2 separate regions of the Homo sapiens genome follow, and region 1 is linked to region 2. Evidence: promoter capture Hi-C in 16 types of primary human blood cells and fetal thymus (Javierre and others, 2016). All regions are on one chromosome and are shown on one strand. The core of a region is centred on a gene start or on the middle of the fragment in contact, and the rest is flanking DNA. Distances in the headings are between cores, read along the strand shown.

Region 1 (3,759 bases), core at 540-3,039, 4.5 Mb after region 2:
TCCCCTTCTCTTTTTTTACAATAAGGATAGTGAGGATCAGAGAAGTTAAGTCACCTTCCACACCTGAGGAAAGGGATCCGCATTTGAACCCACATCTAACTCTGCAACCCATACTCTTTCCACTCTATTCCACTTTGAAGCACCTTCAAGGCAGGGTGCTAACTCATCTTTCTACTTCCCCCACCAGAACCTGGGAGGCACTCAATACATATTTGTACAGTAAATACAATATCATCATTCTCTCCCCTTTTACCCTCAACTCCCCTTCCTCCTCCTACCTCCCTGAGTCTCTACAAGCAGGTAATCCCAAGAAGGTTGGAAAATCTTTCGGTGGTTGACTTTTGAACTGTGACTGACTAGCTATGAAATAGTAACCTTGCTTTGGGACAAGTATGTTTAAGACTAATTTTCTGAATGTATCTGAAAGTAAACTTAAGAAGTCTATGTCAATGTAAAGGAATTAAGAAATCTTCTCTAGTGCAATGTCTCTGGGACGGGAGAGAAATTTGTCAATGGGCAGTTGTGTCCCTGTTTAACCCACAGCAGTTCTTAACCTTTGTGGGGTCGTTGGCCTCTTTGAGAATATGATGAAGCTATTAACTCTCTCCCCCGACCAAAAAAAAATACACTTTGGGCCGGGCGCAGTGACTCACGCCTGTAATCCCAGCACTTTGGGAGGCCGAGGCAGGCAGATCACGAGGTCAGGAGATCAAGACCATCCTGGCTAACACGGTGAAAACCCGTCTCTACTAAAAATACAAAAAATTAGCAGGGTGTGGTGGCGAGCGCCTGTAGTCCCAGCTACTCGGGAGGCTGAGGCAGGAGAACGGCGTGAACCCAGTAGGCGGAGCTTGCAGTGAGCAAAGATCGCGCCACTGCACCCCAGCCTGGGCGACAGAGCGAGACTCCGTCTCAAAAAAAAAAAAAAAATGCACTTAGGGGCACACACACACACATACACACGATTTCACAGACCATTTCAGGGATTTCTACGCTCTGAAGCCCATTCATGCATGAACCACTTCCAAGGAACGGTAGGTTTGCAAAACTGCTTTTATATTTTTACAGCCTTGGTATGCCTTAATTACATTTTTACATTTTTACAGCCTTTGTGTGCCTTAATTAACCTGGCTGGCACTTTAAAACTTGGCCTCACCCTTACCCTGAAGTCACAGTGTGGCTGCATAACTTATGTAAGAAATCGGAGGATCTGTCACAACAGTGAGTGACAAAAAAGGGCAGACAAATTCATTCCACAAGCCAAAAACAGCGACGAAAAGGGTCTCAGCGCCACCTCTAGTGGGGAAACTGAGCCTCAGGCTCCCAACCCAGCCCCCATGATGCCCAGTCTGTCTAGACTCTGTGCTGAACCTGAAGCCCCTGGCCAGGTGTTGCCCAGGCCCTTCCTCGCCCACCCGGTCTCAGACCCATTCTGTGGAACCACAGCCTCCAGGTCATGGCTCCTACTTGTCTCCAGCGTCTTCAGGAGCCTAAGCTGGCACTTCTGGTTGCTGGTGAAGAAGCTGGAGAAGAACCCTTGCTGGGGATTCCCCTGGGCCAGACGCTCGGGGAAGACCTGGCAAGAGACGTGTTGCTGCTGCAGCTGCTCCCCTGCCGCGGGGCCCCGCCGGCGCTCGTCCGGAGCTCCCGCCATGCCTCCCGCAGACCTCGCCGCTGCTTCCTCCTGGCTCAGGCGGCCAGAGCGAGACTGGGAAAGGTAACCTCCCTCCCGCCAACGCGACCGCCCAGGCCCTCCCTCCGCAGGGAAGAAGGGCAGCCTGGCTGGGCTGAAGACGTTAGGCGGGAGGGGGCTTTGAACCTGACGGGGAGCGCGGGAGGCGGGGCGAGAGGCGAGGGGCGGGGCGAGAGGCGAGGGGCGGGGCGAGGGATGAGGGGCGGGGCGAGGGCATGGGGCGGGGCGCGGGGCCCGATGCTGTTGGGCGGAGCTGGGTCTTGCGACTTCCCTCAAAGGCTGTAACAACCCGGCTGCCGCGGATTTCGCTGCTGCCCTCCCAGTGTGGGTGACATGTCTTTATAAGCGTTGTTCTGCAGCTTCCTGCTGCCTGCTGAGCTCTAAGGGTGTCCCGCCTCCTCGCAGACACTCCTTCCTCACCTCGGGGCGAATATTGGCCACTAACTGCTCTTGTGCCGCCGAAGGTCTCGGCCATCCTCCCACTCCCTGCCTTCTTCCGGGGCAAGCCAGTTGTCATTTCTGGCCCGCCACTTTCCCGACCCCTGCCATCCCTCAGATCCACTCTGCCCAAAGATGCCTCTGGCCATATTGAAAGCAGTGTTTTTCAGAAACGTTTTAAAACTATAAAGAATGACTAGTCACATCAAAATCCTCAAAATGTAGGAACCAACTACATTTTTTCTTCCCACCTGTACCCATTCGTTTACCCTACTCTTCTGCCCCACCCCCCACCAATAACTCCCTGATAACAAAGCGCACCCTGTTTACTTCTACCTCTCAGCCTTAACTCATACTGTCATTTCCATCTTTAAGCTCCTTGCCTCAGCCCCTATGATTGGGGCCCAGGTCAAATCTGCCTACTCCACAGGGCATTCCCAGATACCTTAATCAAAATTAATGTCTCCTGATCTCCCAATGTACAAAGCACTTTGTACCTGTTAATCATTTTCATCGTAGCCTGCCAGGTTTTATCCAATTTGTGTGTTTCTCTTTTCCTACTAAATTATTCCACTCAGCTCACACATTTATTCAGCACCTACTATGATGGGCCAGGCAAGGTGTAAGAGACTGAGGAAACACATGACTAAGAAAATTGCTAAAGATGAAGAGCAGCATGTGGTTTATGTAAGAAACATATCTGAAAAATATAGGCTCAGCAGGCCTTTAGGGTTATGAACAGTGCTTTATGTGTCATAGATGCTCAATATCTAAATTGAGTGGGATGCTAGGATAGTCATTCATCTGGAATATTATAAAAATACAAACAACTCCTATGTACATAGACTATTAAAGCCAGAAGTCAAAAAAAAAGTAACTACTTTTTAATTAAATTCACCTTGGATACATTATTTCCAATCCTCACTACAACCCTGCAAAGTAAGTATTATCTCTAATTTGCAGATAAAGTGGGCTCAGCAAAATTCAATAATTTATCTAGGACCACACAACTAGCTTTCAATCCAGTTATTGAACTAAAACACACATATGGAAAACTAAGCCATTACAATTCAGTGTGATTAGTTTGGAATACTGAAGGCAGGCTAGATATGCCTAGAAATGGACCATAGCCTATATACATTTGAAATACTATTTGGATTTTTTTCATGCTTTCTTTTTTAATACATAGATTCAGGTGGTTTATGTGTAGGTTTATTATACAGATATATTGTGTAGTGGTGAGGTCTGGGCTTCTAGTGTACCCATCACCCAAACAGTGAACATTGTACCCAATAGTTAATTTTTCAACCCTCACCCTTCCCCTCCCACTCTCCCCACTTTTGGAGTCCCCAGTGTCTATTATTCCCCTCTGTATGTCCACGTGCACTCAGTCTTTAGCTTCCACTTATAAGTGAGAACATGGGGTGTTTGATTTTCTGCTTCTGAGTTATTTCACTTAGGATAATGGCCCCCAGCTCCATCCATGTTGCTGCAAAAGACATGATTTCATTATTTTTATGGCTGCATAGTATTCCGTGGTGTATGCATAACCACATTTTCTTTAACCATCTGTTGGTGGACACTTAGGTTAATGGTTGATTCTATGTCTTTGTCTTTTTGTCATAACA
Region 2 (3,491 bases), core at 822-3,321:
GAGGAACCACAGTTTTTGTATGAATTATTAGAACTGCGAAGTCAGTTCTACAAATTATTGTTGAAATTACAAAATAGTGTTTGATATTTTCTAAATGAGAGCATTTCTCTTATAATTAAAACAACTTAATTCTTTAAAATTCTCTAAAACAGCCTAATTCTTTAGATTTACTTGTTATAACTTTCAACAGAGGATATAAAAAAAATGAAAATCAATATCAAAACAGACTATTGACTATGTGAAATAAAACATATCGTAACAGCCATCTTTCCAAAAGTGGCACATCTGGTTTCCATCACTGGGTAATACTTTATTAAAGAAATACAAGATGGAGTTTGTTGAAAACTGATAAAACCAATGCACTTACAGAAAAGTCAATATTCCTTACAAGCCTAAAATCCAAAATTTATTGGTCAAGTTCTAATTACATAATCTTCATAATAATAAAGATATATTTAAATAAGTATGTAAATATGAAATCCCTCGGTGAATTTTTAGGGCAAAGAGTAAATGAAATTGCAGGTAAAACAAACTACATTAAATAGGAATAAAAATAAAAACAGCCGGGCGCTGTGGCTCACGCCTGTAATCCCAGCACTTTGGGAGGCCGAGGCAGGGGGATCATCTGAAGTCGGGAGTTCGAGACCCGCCTGACCAACATGGAGAAACCCTGTTTCTACTAAAAATACAAAATTAGCCGGGCCTGTTTTTGGTGGGTTTTTTTGTTTGTTTTTTTTTTTTAGAGAATTAAAATGGCATTTTAAGAGAAAAAGCAAATAGTAACCAAATGTTAAATATTTCACCTCAAGAACTATTTGGAGAATTAAATTTCCATGTATTATTTACTGGGATCTCTTTAATAATACCCTTCTGCTCTGACATCTTTCCCATACATAATATAAAACCATCCTTTAACCCTATTTTACAGCTGGAAAAAAAAACCCGAAGCTCAAAGAGGTTAAGATTTATTGCTGGAACTAAATTCAGGTGTATTCGCTCTGACTGCAAGCCCAACTTCCCACTACAGTACTGCTCATAACAAGGTTTAACATGATTATGTGGATCTTCAATATTCTTCATAAATTAGGTGGCTCTGGATAGTTTATTAACACGTCAAAGGATTGATACAGAGTTAAGCTGAATGATATATACCAGAAGGAAAATTGTTTCCAATTCAGTGATATGCCATAAACGTGAGGAGTACAGGTTTCAACAAGATGGGTGGATACTCGTTTCGGGGAGCAACAAACAAGTTTTTCAATTTTGGTTTGGCCAGTTTCAAGTAAGAAAAAGGCCAGAATAGGCTAGTGCACAGTACACCTAGCTGGATTAACTGAATAGGCTCACTTCATGAACTTCACTCCTAAACTGGGAGGACAGGAGAGGGGAGAAAATCAAAGTGCCTCAGCCCTCTCCAGTGGAAACTATAAAAAGCCCTTGTGGAACAACCCACCGACTCACAAATCTGGAAAGGTGAGGCCTGAATGAAAATTAGGACTGGAAACTGGGGTGAAGCACTGAGTCTAACAGGACCAGGCATGCTCACAGTGCCTTCTCCTGACGTCACCTGAAGCTTACCTCTTTGACAGGTGGGAATTTCTTCTTGCACTCCAGTGACAAGGCGCGCAAGTCGCTCTGCATATTCTCCAGCAGCTTCTTCACCGCCTCGGGGCTGCTGGTGCCGGACATGATCCTCCAAGGTCCCAGCCAATTTCCGAGAGGTACAAACAAGCTCTGGCACGGTCAGCTCCTTAGGGCCACAGGCAGCTCCCTCCCGGTGTCTCTGGTCCTTCAGCAGCCCGCTTCTTGGGCCCTGGGCTGCGAACCCGGAGCCTGCTCGAGCGTCCCCCAGCAGCTTCCCCGCAACACCTCTGGCTTTTCTCGGAGGCGCCCCCCGCAGTCGCACCGTCCCGCTAGGCTCCGCCGACTCTGGCCGAGAAACCCACAAGGCGGGCAGGTCCCTCCGCTGCCGCGGGGCCCAGCCACACCGGGTGTCACCAGCCAACCTGGCAAGAAGCTTCAGCGCCAGCTCCCCAGGCCCCTAAGACTCGCCGACGCCATTAGCCGAGTCGCCCACAATTCCGAGCGCTGCCGGGACACGTCAGCCGCACTTCCGGGTACCGTGGCCTCCGCCACCGCCGCGGCCAACCCCGGCGGCAGGCCGTCGGCGGGGCGGGGCTGGGGCTTGGCCATGCTCGGGGCAGGCGGGATTCCGGGTGGGCAGCGATTCCCACAGCCCCACCCCCGGAATCAAGTAGGCTAGACAGGGTTTAAGGCGTCAAGATTCGCTTCGTTTTCATTAACAAGTGCCTGAACAGAGCCCCCGAGTACTCCTTGGCATATCTCTTTGCGTATGTTTGTGTTAAATTGTATTTCGGTGTAAATAATTTGTTTCCCTGTAGATTAATCTTAACGTGTCTCCTCCCGCTTCATTTCGAATCTCTGGACTAGTGGCCCCAAATCAGTGGCTACCTCCTGTTAATATACATTTTTTTTCTTTAAACGCAACTGGTGCACTTACTGTGGGGTAGCCTCTTATTTTCCTAATCTCTAAAATGAGACTACCCTCTGCTCCACGCATTCCGCTGGCCTCCCATCTCACTCAAAGTAAAAGCCAAAATTCCTCCAATCACCTACCAGGCGCTACGAGATCTGTCCCGGCCCCTTTACTGGCAGATGCTCCCAGCTAAAAGGAGAGTTTCGCGAGTTGGGCTGCCGGTTCTTCCTCTTTTTAAATCTTATTTTGTTTCCTGTGTATCTCCAGCACCTAGAACAGTGTCTGGCATATAGCAGGTAATCAGTACATACTTGTTGAATGAATACCCTTCTATTATAAAATCAGAGTTTCGAGGCTCAAATAAGGCACAGATACATAAAAGCCTTCATCAGGTCTGAAGTGCCAAATAAATATGAGGCAAAAGCCAAACAGAAAAATCTTCATCTGTATTTCCCCAAGATCCAGGTTGGTCTACTTTTTCCCCAAGACATTTTGCAGCTGCTGGTCAGAAAGCAGAAAATGAGGGAGGAAAAACCAGAAACAGTAGAGATGAAGAAACCAACACCTTCAGACAGCTGAGCTTATGACATGATGGAAGACAGTGAGCCATGAGATTGTCAGTGGATAGCGCTGTTTGGCTGTAACAGAGCTACTTTGTAAGCTAAATAATTTTATTTTATTTTTCCTTCTGATAAGAAGCAAAGCAAGGATGGATAAAGGGGACAGATGAGGTAATAGTAGAGAGCTCCTAGGGCAGTAATTTTGATCATTTGTGCCTATTACACAACTTCTGGGAAACTTGACACCTCCTATGGTATAAGCTTTATGTATGAAAACTGGTGAATTTAGCAAAAAAGTTCAAATGGAATATATGGCAGACATTATTCTTGAGGTCTCAGGGAGCTTGTAAAAACGAGGCGCTTTTTTTGGGTGGGGGGTGGAGACGGAGTCTCACTCTGTCACTCAGGCTGGAGTGCAGTGGCGCGATCTCCAC

Evidence for each region. Contacts are between HindIII fragments. The CHiCAGO score rates a contact against its expected background, and 5 or more counts as called.
Region 1: a contact is called between the fragment with the promoter of ATP23 here and the fragment with the promoter of MON2 in region 2, in 9 of 17 cell types (M2 macrophages, non-activated CD4 T cells, total B cells and 6 more). The highest score is 11.7, in M2 macrophages.

The regions. Positions count from the first base shown.
Region 1 is chr12:57,939,597-57,943,355 of GRCh38, reverse strand. ATP23 (ATP23 metallopeptidase and ATP synthase assembly factor homolog) reads right to left here and starts at 1,789. Exons shown (of 6, transcript NM_033276.4): 1 at 1,468-1,789. The coding sequence starts at 1,654. RefSeq lists enhancers at 485-654, 1,111-1,920. The HindIII fragment of the contact is 6,393 bases long and covers 1-3,759 here.
Region 2 is chr12:62,465,406-62,468,896 of GRCh38, reverse strand. MON2 (MON2 regulator of endosome-to-Golgi trafficking) reads right to left here and starts at 2,071. Exons shown (of 35, transcript NM_015026.3): 1 at 1,579-2,071. The coding sequence starts at 1,689. RefSeq lists enhancers at 1,415-1,914, 1,910-2,019 and a silencer at 2,050-2,369. The HindIII fragment of the contact is 1,301 bases long and covers 2,020-3,320 here.